Linked DNA regions of Homo sapiens: all the other regions are linked to region 2. The links are contacts of gene promoters, found by promoter capture Hi-C in human tissues and cell types (Jung and others, 2019). All regions are on one chromosome and are shown on one strand. The core of a region is centred on a gene start or on the middle of the fragment in contact, and the rest is flanking DNA. Distances in the headings are between cores, read along the strand shown.

The links. Contacts are between HindIII fragments. The study calls those that stand out against the background at their distance.
Region 1: a fragment that was not itself captured here is called in contact with the fragment with the promoter of MAX in region 2 in 1 of the 25 tissues and cell types used here (dorsolateral prefrontal cortex).
Region 3: a contact is called between a fragment that was not itself captured here and the fragment with the promoter of MAX in region 2, in 1 of the 25 tissues and cell types used here (dorsolateral prefrontal cortex).

What each region holds. Positions count from the first base shown.
Region 1 is chr14:65,839,809-65,844,316 of GRCh38, reverse strand. No RefSeq gene overlaps it. Among named protein-coding and RNA genes, the nearest start is that of LINC02290, 270 kb to the left of the region's middle. The HindIII fragment of the contact is 4,634 bases long and covers 1-4,446 here.
Region 2 is chr14:65,100,308-65,104,803 of GRCh38, reverse strand. MAX (MYC associated factor X) reads left to right here and starts at 2,287. Exons shown (of 5, transcript NM_002382.5): 1 at 2,287-2,500; 2 at 3,232-3,258. The coding sequence starts at 2,465. RefSeq lists enhancers at 1,873-2,022, 2,716-3,216 and a silencer at 2,353-2,702. The HindIII fragment of the contact is 28,413 bases long and covers 1-4,496 here.
Region 3 is chr14:66,067,697-66,072,066 of GRCh38, reverse strand. No RefSeq gene overlaps it. Among named protein-coding and RNA genes, the nearest start is that of LINC02290, 42 kb to the left of the region's middle. The HindIII fragment of the contact is 3,840 bases long and covers 107-3,946 here.

The sequences.
Region 1 (4,508 bases), core at 880-3,379, 740 kb before region 2:
TTCCATCTATATTAGCCACCCCTCACCCAGATAATCTATGTTAACACCTTAATACGTACCCTTCAATATATTTCTTTATGCTCATAAGATCTTATAAACATAAAAGCACAGCATATTTATGTGTACGGATGACTCAGTGTAATAACAGGTATGGTCTCTCTTCTGGGAGCTGACCATCTTTGGAAGGAGACAATGCACATTTACAAGACAAAGCGGGGAAGCTTGCACACATGGCACAGTGCCATAGCAATACAGTGAAAAAATAGATGGAAAAGACCTATCAGCATGAGGGTTGCAGCTTATGAGAGGCAGAAAATAGAAAATGTAAGGGGTCATCAAGAAAATCCTCACTGTCATGGTCTCCACATGGACCGCTTGAATCAAAATTAACTCAAAACCCAGATGCTATGTGTACTAGAGACACATCTGCCAAGTCAAGAAGGAAATGTCTCTCCCTCAGAGGACAGAGCTGAGGGGAGCATCCCTCCCTAAGGTGGGGTTCCTGGACCCCAGGAGCATCGTGGGCCTGGAGCCAGGGGAAGGTCAGGAGAGCAGAGGCACCATATTCAACTGAGCAAATGCCACAGTGACATTTGCAGGCACAATCATGTAAATGTTATTTACTGTGAGAAATGCATTTCTCAGGCAGATGCTTCCCACCATCTATTCACTTGGCTGCCTCAGAAAGAAGCGATTCTTTGCTCAGCCTCCCAGGTGGGTGTTGGTGTGTCAGGGGTCCTGGGATTGAGACTTGGCAGTCAACCTACAGGTGTAGCTAAAATCCTCCTCTTGGCTGGTGAAATGGGCTTCTGCCCCAGGAGTGGCAGGGCCTGAACTTGTAGCCTTTGAAGGATGCATCAATCCCCTCCTTCCAGGTCAGCCCCATGACTCTACTGAGAAGGGAAGTGAGGCTTTGGGTAGAAGCTGCTGCCTTGGTGAAACCAGCATCAGAGCTCAGGGATGCAGCAGGGTTACAAAAAGATGAGAAAGTGACACAGAGACAAACAAAGCAGCCAAACAACAAGCAGCCGGGGTCTGTGAGGCAAAAGGAGATTGCTGCCTGTTCAAAAGCCCTCGCTTCTCATTGCCTACTGGGCAGCCCTATTCATCCAGCATGACTTTTATGTTTTCAGTCCCCTTGGCAGAACAGAAATGTAGGGTCAGAGGCTCTCCAGTCCTTGGCTGGACCAGGTATCAGGTGGAAAAATAAAGTCTGCTAAACAAAGAAATCCACAGCATGACTTTCAATGCTACCTGGGCTGGCCCCATACCATTCAATGGAAACAACCAGAACCCACTAGAATCCTCTGAGAAATATATTTGTTGCAGTCCTACCAAAGTAAGGTGATAAAGTTTAAAAGCCACTGCACCTGGAATTGAATACCTAGAAAGGCAGCACAGTGGAAAGAAAATGAGACATCAGTGGTTGATATTCCAGCCCCACCACTTGCCTATAGATCCCTTAACCACACTGAGCCTCCATTTCTTCATTTGTAGAATGAGGATATTAACATCCTCCTTTTTAACTCACCTGATGGATGTAGGGATTGTGCGTGGCGATGACCACTACAGCATTTTTGAAATAGTAAAGGTTATATCATGCTAAGGTATTTATGGCACTGTTTCAGATCTTCTGCTACTAAAGATTTGAGAGACCCCGATGATGAGGTCTCAGGAGAGATGTACAACCTAGGGACATTTAGCGAGGACACCCAGGCAATGCCTAATTACCTGCTAAACATGGTAGAGAAAAAATGGCCACAGCCGTTCAGAAAATCAAGTGATGACTGGTCTATGGGGTATAGTTTCAGAGAGGGGTTGGGAGTTGAGTCAGTTCTTGCAAATTTATATAATGACACCGTTAAAGAACCCAGATAAACACAAAGCATGTAGTGGCTTTATTAGAGGGTAGAGAGAAGTTATCTGTGCCCCCAAGTTGGCAGGGTATCTGTGAAGCTAAGCCTACATCTCCCCCTTATGAAATGGCCTCTAGATGTCTTCTGCTGACCCCACTTACCTTTTAGATGAGAGATAATGAACCACAAAAGAGCCCTCCAACCCCTCATTTCCTCATACTCCTTTCCTTAGGTTTTTCCTCCAAGGCCCCAATGTTAAGAAAAATGTTCTACAATTAAAAATTCAAGCAGTAATCCAGGCACTCCAATCTACTTTGTAGGACAGAGTGTAAATGATAGAAAAATAAGTGTATGTCATTACCTTTTCCCTACTTATTACTTATTCAAAATATAAATGGCTGCCAATCAGCTCTTCAGATTAGCATGAGATCACCAGTGTCACCGCACTGAACTAATAGGATAATCCTTTCTTTAAAAGTTTATTTTTGTAGAGATGGGGTCCCACTGTGTTGCCTAGGCTGGTCTCGAATTCCTGGGCTCAAGTGACCCACCCACCTCAGCCTCTCAAAGTGCTGGGATTATAGGTGTGAGTTATCACACCAAATTAATAGTATCATTTTAACCAAAGAGCAGAGAAACTTGGCATTTTTGTTAGTAAATACATTATCTGTGTAAATGTACAATTTCCAAGAGATTTTCTGAAATACTGAAAAGAGTTCGAATATCTGATGGGACCTGAAACCTCAGATTTTTAGGTTGGCAATCACTTTTCTAGAAGGTAGTTTATAATCCACCTGCCATGACAAGGAAGTTAAAAATAAATTGCCTTGACCAACTTTGAGGCTTAGAAGTGAAATGAAGGTGACCAGAAAAGCATCCACGCTGTTCATCTTGGCTCTTCCTCCTTATTTCCCGCGTGCTTCAGAGCGGGACCCTCCGCCATCGGCCCCGTGGGTTTCTTCCAAACGGGACTCAGTGGTGGGCCCTCAGCCATGAAAAGCTCTTCACTCAGAAGAAGCCTGGACGTGTACTCATTGGTTGTCAGGAACTGTTCAATTGCCCCACCCCCACCATTAGCCCTGCTACCCTCATTCCCCAGCCACGTGCCTCACTTCATCTCAGCCCCAGACGGGAGTCCATGCTGAGCTTCTTCGAGGCCAGGGCATCTGGGCAGGAAGGGAAATGGCTGGACCAACCCCTAGTCCAACCCATTCATTGGGCTGACTTGCCCAAAACCATAAGGCTCACTGGGGCTGAACTGAGCCTGGCATTGGGTTTTCCTGCCTCCTAATCCAATTCCCTTTCTGTTTCTTCTTTGGAAGGCAGAATTTGTAATGTATTGGTGTGAAATAAAACTAATCTCAGAAATTCCACCATGGTTTTCACAAAGCAGTGTTGTAACAACAGAAGGTTTAAGGCCTAAGGAAGAATACTGGAAAATAAAACTTGGTGAGTAAGAATGCACTGGACCATCTCCAGCAAACATCAAAACAGAAAGTACTCTGAATTCCAAAGACTGGTATCCATAAACCAGGCAGAGAGATCTCTAGAGAAGAGTTGTTTGCCAGTGGAAATGTCCTTTGAGCAACTTCCCTATCTGCCATGTTGTGTGGTCTCCTGGGCAGACCACCTGCCAGGAGGATTACCATGCAGGTGGCTGGAACGGGTCCCCCTGTATACTAACATCTGCTTGTGGAGGTCTTGAATCCTCTTGTGAGATCAATAGGCATTCTTTCCCTGGGATCAATCCCCCATAGATACTCTGGTAACAGAGCTTCTGAATTCCCAGCACCAAGACCCAGCCCTGAGGAGCAAACTCGAGAACAGGGCCAAGGCAGCCCTTCAGCCGCTGTCTTCTGCAAGCCTTATCTGCACTGGGAGGCCCTTAGCACCAAGGACTGGGGAGGGAGGCAGCAGACTGCAGGGGGTAAGGGTGTGAGCTTTGGTGCTGGGAGTCTGGCGATAGCTGTGTGATCCAGCAAGTAGCTCAGCCTCTCTCAGTCTCAGGGTCCCCATCTACAAAGCTTGGTGGGGGTATAATAATAATACCTATTTATGAGGGTCATTGTGAGGATTAAATGGTGCTTAGCATGGCAGCTGGCACATTGTAAACACTCCATAAATGTTTGCTGTTGCTATTAATACCAGGCAGGCTTCCACCACGTTGCTTTGGCAAGGACACTGCATTGCGCTTTGCAGTACTCAAAGACAGCCCTCTCTTTTCAACACTCTGTCCTTCAGCACCCTGGCCTGGGACCTCCGGAGCCCCCAGGATGTCATTTGCCTAGACTTTACAGGACAGGATCAAAGGACATCCTGCTAGCACAGTGGTATTAAACCCACATGACCAGCCCATGGGCTTGCCTGTCTCAATGGGGGACTGGAAGCTTAGAACTTCAATTGCTTATAAATGGCAACAGATCAGGAAAGCAAACCAATGCACCCTCTGTCACTGTGGTTATTCCAAGAAAAGGAAATCCTCTGATGGTCAAGGGGGAGTCCTTGATGCTAACCTCTGTTCTGGCAAATCCCAGGGTGCGGGGAACCAATGCGTTGGAGATCCAAGATGTAATGGGAGAAGAAGTGTGATTGAGGACTGACCCAGGCTCTCCCATCTCTTCCTCTCCTCTCCCAGAGGGAATTTTGGTTGGA
Region 2 (4,496 bases), core at 1,038-3,537:
ATTGACATACCATAAAATTCACTCTTTAAAAGCATACAGTTCAATGGGAAACTATCTTATTTATTCTGGCATCGTCTATAGCTGTGGTTCTCAGTCTTGGGTGCACACTGGAATTACTGGAAGAGCTTTAAAAAATCCTTCAGTCTGGAAAAAAAAATCCTTCAGTCTGGATCTCCCCTTCAGAGGTTCTGGCTTAATTGGTTTGGGGTGTGGCCTGGGGATGGGAACTTTTTTAAGCTCCTAGGATGATTTTAACTTGTAGCCGGGGTTGCCCTAGAGTGCTCTGTTCATAGCAGGCACCCAAGAACTGTCTGTTGTAATCATCAATTAGCTTTAACTTCTAGTATCCAGTTAATTAACTCACTCAAAAGTGGCCGTCTGTCTCCCCAATAGCCCATCAGCTCTTATCACATAATGGTCTGCTTATATCTGTCTCCCCAACTCAGCAGGAAAGGAACACTATGAGACAAAAGCATGTAGAAAAGGTAAGTTCACTTGCAAAGATGTGCAGACTTAGTAGGACTGGATCACTGAATAAGAAATACAACAGATATTAGACCGCGAGCGGTGGCTCACGCTATAGGCGTGAGCACGTGAGCACTTTGGGAGGCCGAGGCGGGTGTATCACGAGGTCAGGAGTTTCGAGACCAGCCTGGCCAAGTTGGTGAAACCCTGTCTCTACTAAAAATACAAAGATTAGCTGGGCGCGGTGGCGGGCGCCTGCCCCAGCTACTCGGGAGGCTGAGGCAGGAGAATCGCTTGAATCCGGGAGAGGGAGGTTGCAGTGAGCCAAGATTGCGCCACTGCACTCTAGCCTGGGCGACAAAGTAAGACTCCGTCTCAAAAAAAAAAAAAAAAAAAAAGAGAGAGAGAAAGAAATACAATAGATATTAAAGGAAAAAATGTAAAGGAAAAATTACCACATTTACATTTGTCTTTTCAGCATAGATGACATGCTCACGTTGAGGAATGTGTGTCACAAGAATTGTGTGTGACATATCCCCAAATTTCCACATTCAAAAGTCAGGGATAATATGGTATTCATCCGGGAATCAGTAACTCATGGGAAAAGCTCAAGATGTCATTCACTTTGGAGACCAGATGTAAAGGAGTAGTATGGGTACTTTGTCTCAGGGTGGAAAGTGTCTGTTATGGTTTTCTTCCTTCCCATGGGACTTGTTGCACACTCTTACAATGGCGGCAGGACCGGCACGCTTGCTTGCACAGCTGTGAGCTGCATGAAGGCAGGGATGGTTTTGGTCTTATCCGTTATGGCATCCCCTTGTGGCAAGTTAGGTGTTCAATAAATATCGGTGGAATGCATGTGATTACACTTCATGCCACAGTATATAAATATGATTTTAACTGGACAGGGAACTGCAAAAGTTTCCCATATTGATCCTTTTTGCAATCTTAATTATGGTACTCTGAGCTGGGATATTGCCTAAACTGTCTGGGCTACAACAAACTCTGAAGGGGCTTTTACTTCCACGTCCATAGTGGTTGAGGGTTCGCGTTGTGTGAACGCTGGAGCCTCACGTGAGTAGCTGAGTAGCGAGGATGGTCACTCCCAGATAAACGAATACAGGATTCTCGCGGCTGGGAGCGGTCGCCCGGCGAGGTCGGTCATTCTGCCTGTCCGGTAGCACCACGAAACACCTGCCACTGACACCTCCCCACCAGCCCCCGAGGGTTCGCGCAGGCATCCCGAGCCGCGCCCCCTGGTCCGCCGCAGCCAGATTCCCTCCCGGGCGGGTTACGCCCCTAGGCGCAAAACGGAACCACTCCGTATGAAGAAGACAAAGTATAACCAGTCACACCAAAGAGAGGCAGCATTATTTAGACAGCCGGCTACTCCCCCAGAGACTCCACCCAGTCCCCTGGGCCCGGCGTCCAGCGCGCAGACGGTGCCCGGCTCCAGGAGTTCCAGCTCCCTCCACGTGTCCTGTCTTCCCAGCAGCCTCCTCTGCCGCCTCGGGAGGAAAATCTCCTGACAACTCGCGGTCTGCGGACTACGACTCCCAGGAGGCGCCGCGCCGCGGCTCTCCCCGCCCCCCCCCGCCCCCCCCCCCCTCCCCGGGACGCGCAGGCGCCTTGGGCTCCGTCAACAAGCCGGGCTGGCGTCGCCTGGATGCGGTTTCTTCCGGGATTTGTAGTTTTTCTGGAGCTACCCGGGCCGTCTGTTAGAGGGACAAGAACTACAAGTCTCGGCTGCCCCAGCGCTGCGAGCCTGGTCACGTGGCGGGGGCCGACCGGGCGTGCGTGCCGCCGTTGATCCGGTGCTGCAGTGAGGAGGTGGTTCTTGCCCGTGTTGTGTGTGTGTGTGAGTGAGAGAGCGAGTGAGTGAGTGAGTGAGTGTGTGTGTGGGGGGGACTCGGCTTGTTGTTGTCGGTGACTTCCCCCTCCCCTTCACCCCTTCCCCTCCCCGCCGCCGCTGCAGTGGCCGCTCCCTGGGCCGTAGGAAATGAGCGATAACGATGACATCGAGGTGGAGAGCGACGTGAGTCCTGGGGCTTCTTCCTTCCCGTGCGGGTTGTCAGGCGGGGACAGCGGCCGGGGCTCTTAGCGGGGCGACGGCGGGAGGGGGCCGGGCTGCCGCCGCCTCCTTCCCCTTCCCCTCGGGGCCAGGAGTGCCTCCGTCGCGTTCCCGGTTCGCTCCCCTCCGGCTCCTGGCCGGAGCGGCCTCCTGGGACTGGAGGTTGGGGGAAGACACGCGGCTTCTGGGACCCCCACCTCCTCCCTTGCGGGAGGGTGCTGCGGCCTCCCGCTCCCACCTTCCCCGGCTCAGGATCCGGGGGACAAGGATGGGGGGCGCCCGGGATCCCATTGTCCGGATCCAGGGGAAGGGGACGGCGTTCAGGACCTGCCCCTTCGGACTGCGATCCTCTCCTCCCGTGACCCGCGGATCCTGGGGGCCGGGGAAGGGCGGAGAGGGGTTGGGGGTGCCTAGATGCCCGAGCTGGGTCTGCAGGGAGGAGACAGTGCTCGGGACCCCTCTGGCCCAGGTCGGATCCCGGAAGGAGGGGCGGCGCTCGGGACCCCTCTACCCTGCTACCGGATCCCGCCGAGGGTGGAAGGGTGGGGGCAAGGGGTGGGGAGGGAGGAAGGGGTGTCGGGCTGACTCCCCACCCTCCGCTTCCTCTGCCGCCGGCATTTTCTTTCTTATTATTGAATGTTAAGTGTAAAAATAACTTCTATATTTTCTATTTTTTTTTTTCTCTCTTATTCCAGGAAGAGCAACCGAGGTTTCAATCTGCGGTACGTCTCCTACTCTCCATTTCATTTTTATTTCCGTTCAGTTCTATTCCTTTTTGGGGTCAGAGAGAAAAAGAGATCGTACTATTACTTTTAATATTGTAGTAAACTCTAATGTTAACCACTAAGGTGAGGTGGGGCCTGGTTCTGGAGGGTGGGGGGGTTGCAAATCCCATTATTCTAGATTCTCAGGTGATAAGTTCAGTGATTCTAGGTGAGTAAGAGGAGCTGTATGCAAAGAATTGAATTGTTCTGTAGTTTTCAGATAGGGGATCCAGATGCCACTATGTAAGTGGAAATGAGAAATGCAGCATTCTGGTCTGGTAGTATTATTTCAGGGCAAAGTGGTCAGAAGATTTATTTAGGAACAAGTAGGTTTTAAACCATATCTGTATAATTGTGTGAAGCTGAAGCCACATGCGGTAATCGCCTTTAACCAAGTCATGTGACTGCTATAGACCCGTAGAATCTAGCACAACATGGTATTCTAATGCAAAAATTGGAAATGTAGAGGAGCCAAACGTTACATCATCAAAGTGTCACATAAAGTTATTATGGTCTGATTCTCTGTATTTGAAGAAAAGGTATAAAGAAAATTAAAAAATAGCTGAAGAAAAGTGGCATTGCAGAGACAGCTTTGCTGAAAGGTGATGGATGAGACCATAGAGTGTTATCAATAATTTCTTAGGGTTTTGATATTAATGTTCTCAGTAGATGGTTCTGTGGATTTAGATAAGCACTAATTCCATGTCTTTGGAGTCTGAGACAGTAATATGGATGTTTCATGAATAGATTTGAGGGAAAAAAGAATACACACAGAATAAATCAGAATCAGCGAGGGGAAGAGAAATAAGTATATCAGAGTGTCTAATATTTGATAGTTGGGAGCAGTAAGAAATGTATAGAATGGGGGTAAAAAGTTCAAATGCCCATGAGGGCCATAAAGAATAAAGAAGGAAGAGGTGAGGGCTTGGGTACTGGAGAGCAGTGCCTCTTCTAAAAAGTCAGCACTACTGAACTCCAGTGGTTTGTTAGTAGGAGTGAAGGGTCAGTATTGCCAGATCTTCCTATTTTTAATTTTATTTTATTTATTTATTTTTGAGACAGAGTCTCACTCTGTCACCAGGCTGGAGTGCAATGGCGCTATCTCGGCTTACTGCAACCTCCGCCTCCTGGGTTCAAGCGATTCTCTTGCCTCAGCCTCCCGAATAGCTGGGACTACAGGCGCGTGCCACCACACC
Region 3 (4,370 bases), core at 777-3,276, 970 kb before region 2:
TATACCCATAGAAAAAATATTGTTTAATATGCCTGGGTGTTTTACATATAAGTTATCATAGGGTGTGTCAGTCTGCAGCTTGATTTTTGTTCACTCAACAATAGGTCTTGGGGATCTTTCCATGTCAGTACACATAGTATATATATTTTAAAACACTGCTATATATATATAATATATATTATTTATGTATTTTATATATATTAGATATTATATATAATATCTAATATATATAAATATTATATATAATATATAAATAATATATAATATATAAATAATATATATAAAATATATATATGATGAATGAATTATAGTTTATTTAACCAACCCCATTTTTATGCTAATTTCAGTTATTTCTGCACCTAACATTTGATATTTTGCAAACAAAGCTGCCACAAACTTGCTGGGCACATGGGTAAAGTGTTTTTCTGGGGTAGATATGGAGAAGTGGACTCACTGGATCAGAGTATGAATATTTTGCATTTTTTAGATATTGCCAAATTTCTCTGCAAAGTGATTATACCAGCTTATGATCCTACCTAGAGAGTAAAGAATATCTTTTCTCCCATGCCCTTTTTAATTTTTTCTAATTTAGCAGGTTAAAACAAAATCTCTCTCTGATGTTTGAATTTCTATTTTCCTGATTACTGGTAAGACAGAGTATTATTGTCATGCACTTATGGGCCACTTATATTTTCTTTTCTGTGAATTACAATTTTATATCTTTAGAATATTTTTCTGTTGGATTTTTGTTTGTTTTCTTTTCAATCTGTAGAGGTTCTTTATATAATCTAGATACTTATCCTTTGTTACAAGTATTTTCTCCTTTTGTCTTTTAATTTTGCTCATGTTGTCTTCTGTCACACAAAAGTTTTTGTTTTTGATGTAGTCAAATGTATCAGTTTTTTGTGTGTGTTTTGTTTCTCGTGTCGTTTAGAAATCTTTTTCCACATCAAATCATAAAAAATCCTCCCACCTCCTACTCAAATTTTTTTCGTCTAAGACCTTAATGAGAGAAGCTTTCTAGGTAAGTCAGTCCCTACCTATGTTGCAGGTGTATCTGCAACCAGGTAGAAGGAGTGAAGGTCCCTTTCTCTGGAACCCGGCAGGACCCCTCAGGGAGGATGGAGCAGTCCCAATAGTTTCCAGCAGAGGGCAGTGTCTGAGCGGGTCTTCCTCTACTGGGACCCTGAGGGTTCCCTGCCTCACCAAAGGGAACAGGTAACTACTCTGAAATTAGCAGGTCTTGGGGAGGGGAGCATGTATCTGGTCACGGAAAAGACCAGGAGCAAAGTCTGTTTCTGCGTGTGTTCCACAGTGGTGTGGGAAACCACGGGGAAAGTGTGCTGTTGGACTCTTTTATCTGCATATGGAAAGAGAGAAGACTGGAGTGAGCCAGGATCATAGCCGGCTTTCTCCAAGGGAAGCTTCGAGGCCGGCTTCAATCTGGTCAGCACACCTGAGATAAAAGCTTAGGTTTTACAGAGAACACGTTATTTACCAGACAAACAACAGGCAAGATGGAAACATGCAATCCCCAAGCTTATTCTTTTGATTTCATCAATAATTCAAGCCCTGTCTCCTTTGGTGGAGGAGTGGGGAGAGGAGGAAGAACAAAAGAGCCCCGTGGCCAGAGGCACAGCTGACTTCAGAGGGGAAACCGAGGAAACAACAGACAGCTCTGTTCAGCACAGTTCCCTCCCCACCTCACCCCAGGCACATCCCGGGCTAGCAGCTCTGTCTTCCGTTGGTTGTTTAATACTAGCAACATGCGCTATACTGTATCATTATGAAACCAAGACTGCCTTGGCAGTGAAACTCACAGACCCATATAAATATATTAATCTGCCTAGATTTGCAAATCTGAACCAGTTTCTTGGCCCACCCATGTGCTGGGTTTTCTCTGCTTGCCCCCATGTGTCCACTTTGCACCTTTCTCTGAACTTGCTCTGTGCCCGGGAGGCTGCCTGTGGGGTGAGTCAGTGCGCTCCAGGCTCATCAGTTTCTGCTTTGGGTGGACCAATGGGAGACACCTGTGGTTGAGGTCTGGGAATTTGCCTTCCAGGATCTCTCCTGGTTGAACTGTAGTTGGCAGTGGATCCATTCTTCTGCAGATTCAAGGCAGCTTCCTGCCACACTTGGACAAACAACCACCCACTCTCTCCTCTTTTCATTTCATGCCTTGGGGTGTTGGTGGTTTCTGGATAGTTTGTGCTTCACTATCCCTCACTGGCTTCCCTTTTCCCTGCTCACAGCCTTAGAAATAGTTCCTTCATTCATTTCTCTTCAACCTTCTCTTCTGAGTGTACTGTTTGATTCCTGCCCGAACCCTGAAGAAAACAGAAACCTAAATCTGTCTTAATTCTTCATCCTGAAACAGATCAAGCATACAATTAAAATTTTACTGTAGTTTTGGATTCTCTTTTCCACACAATCTCCAAGCCCAGGGTGGCTGCTGCCCTCGCACCTTTCCAAAAGACGGCACAAGAAGTCATTGCAAACCTGCCTGAAAGACTCCTCCGGCTGCATTCCTTTTCTACAATTCTCTAGTGTTGATTTATCAAAGACCCCTTTCCTCAGGCTCACAAAAATGTCCCATTGCTATAAATACTCTTCAATCCAGTTCTAAACTTTAAAGGCAAACAACCTGGAAGATGAAAGGATCATAGGAACCAATTTGGATGCCTGGAGGTTTGACTAATTCATTAAGGGATGGTTGCAGAAAGTTACTGGATATGTAAACTGCATTTATATGCAGCTCTCCTCTTCAGGGACAGGATTGTTGTTCTGTAAGCCAAATAGTTGCAATAAGCTGGCATTCCAAGTAGATGAGGCCACTTAGTGTTCATCTCTCCACAAGGCATACATTGAGTAAGTGAACTGGGTCCCCCAAGTCCCGCTTCCCTTCTCCTACCACCTACTGGTGAAGATGTAAATGAACAAAGCCCAGAGATTGCAATAGGAGGAACAAACCCTAATTAACACATTGGATAACGCAAATAACTGAGAGCTGTTTGGACACCTACTTTAATTAACTGCTAAGTGAGTCTTACTCCCTGCAGACTGTCCTAGTTTTCATCATGTGTTCTTTCTGGGTGCATCTCTTCTACATCTGTAGCTAAGTGACTGCCTCTCTTCCTGTCCAGCTCTCACTCCATTTTCAGCCCAGCCTAGTGACTAAGAGATTCCCTGGACACCTTACCAATGTCCAATCCATATCCAAAGCCTAAGGATGTCATCCAAGTCTCTCCTTGATCTGCACTCCTCTGCTCACCTCTACCACCAGCACTTGGTCCTAGGCCCCTGGACAACTGCAACAGCTTCATAGTTGCTTATACTCCTGAATCAGCACTTCCCTCTCCATGGCACAGCCAGAGTAAGCTTTACAACATGGAAATCTGTCCCTGATACTCTCCTACTTAAAATCCTTTGAAGGCTCCTCATCACTTTTAGGATAAACACTCAAAGCTTTACAAACCTGTGGCCTAGTCCTGCCCACCACTTCTGTGCCCATCTGATGCCACCTCCCTCTGTCATGACCTGAGTCTCTTTATGGTGCTTTTCTCTGATCCTTAAACTTGCCATGCTCTGTCTCAGCTCATGTCCTTTTTCTTTGCCTGTGATGCTCTCCTTACCACCATGAACACTTGCCTTTGCCTAGTTAACTCCTGTGCATTCTTCAGAACCCAAACTCCAACAGTCTCCTTCCTTAAAGGAGCCTTCACTGACCTGAGACTAAGCCAGGTTCCCTGTCACACAATCCCCCAACATGGCCACATGTTGTGGTGACTATATACTTAAAAAATTGAGGCTTATCTCCTCCACTAGAATGTACACTCCTTGAAGTTGGGAGTCGTGTCTTTGTGCACCTGGCGTTGTGTCTGGCATCTAGGCCTGTCTCAGCAAAGACTTGTTGAATGAATGGATGGACACTATTGTGCTCTTTCTTTTAATATCAGCGGGTGGTGAGGGCACCACCACAGACTGAAGAAACGGAGGTCCTCAGTCTGGAGAGATGTAGGTGTGGTACTGATCAGAGTGGGAGGTGGACTGTGTTGTTGTCTGACAGCTGACAATTCTCGGATTTTGTGGACTAGGAGGGTATCCACACGTTCTTGCCTCTTCTGTCTGTGTAGATACTCTCTCCCATCTGGCTCTATCTTGTGCCAGTGTTGTGTACATGCCCACCCACACCCCCAGCCTGTGACCTGGGAGAGCCCCACCAAAGCCCCCCTTCCTTGTGGCTTCATGCCCTTGTTTATTCTTGGGCTGGGAAACCTGAGTCTTCCATTCCCAGGCCTGCTTCTGATCATATACAATGCAGTACTAAAAAGCCAGTTGGTCTCCTGGAACTTCTTTCTTCCCATTAGTTG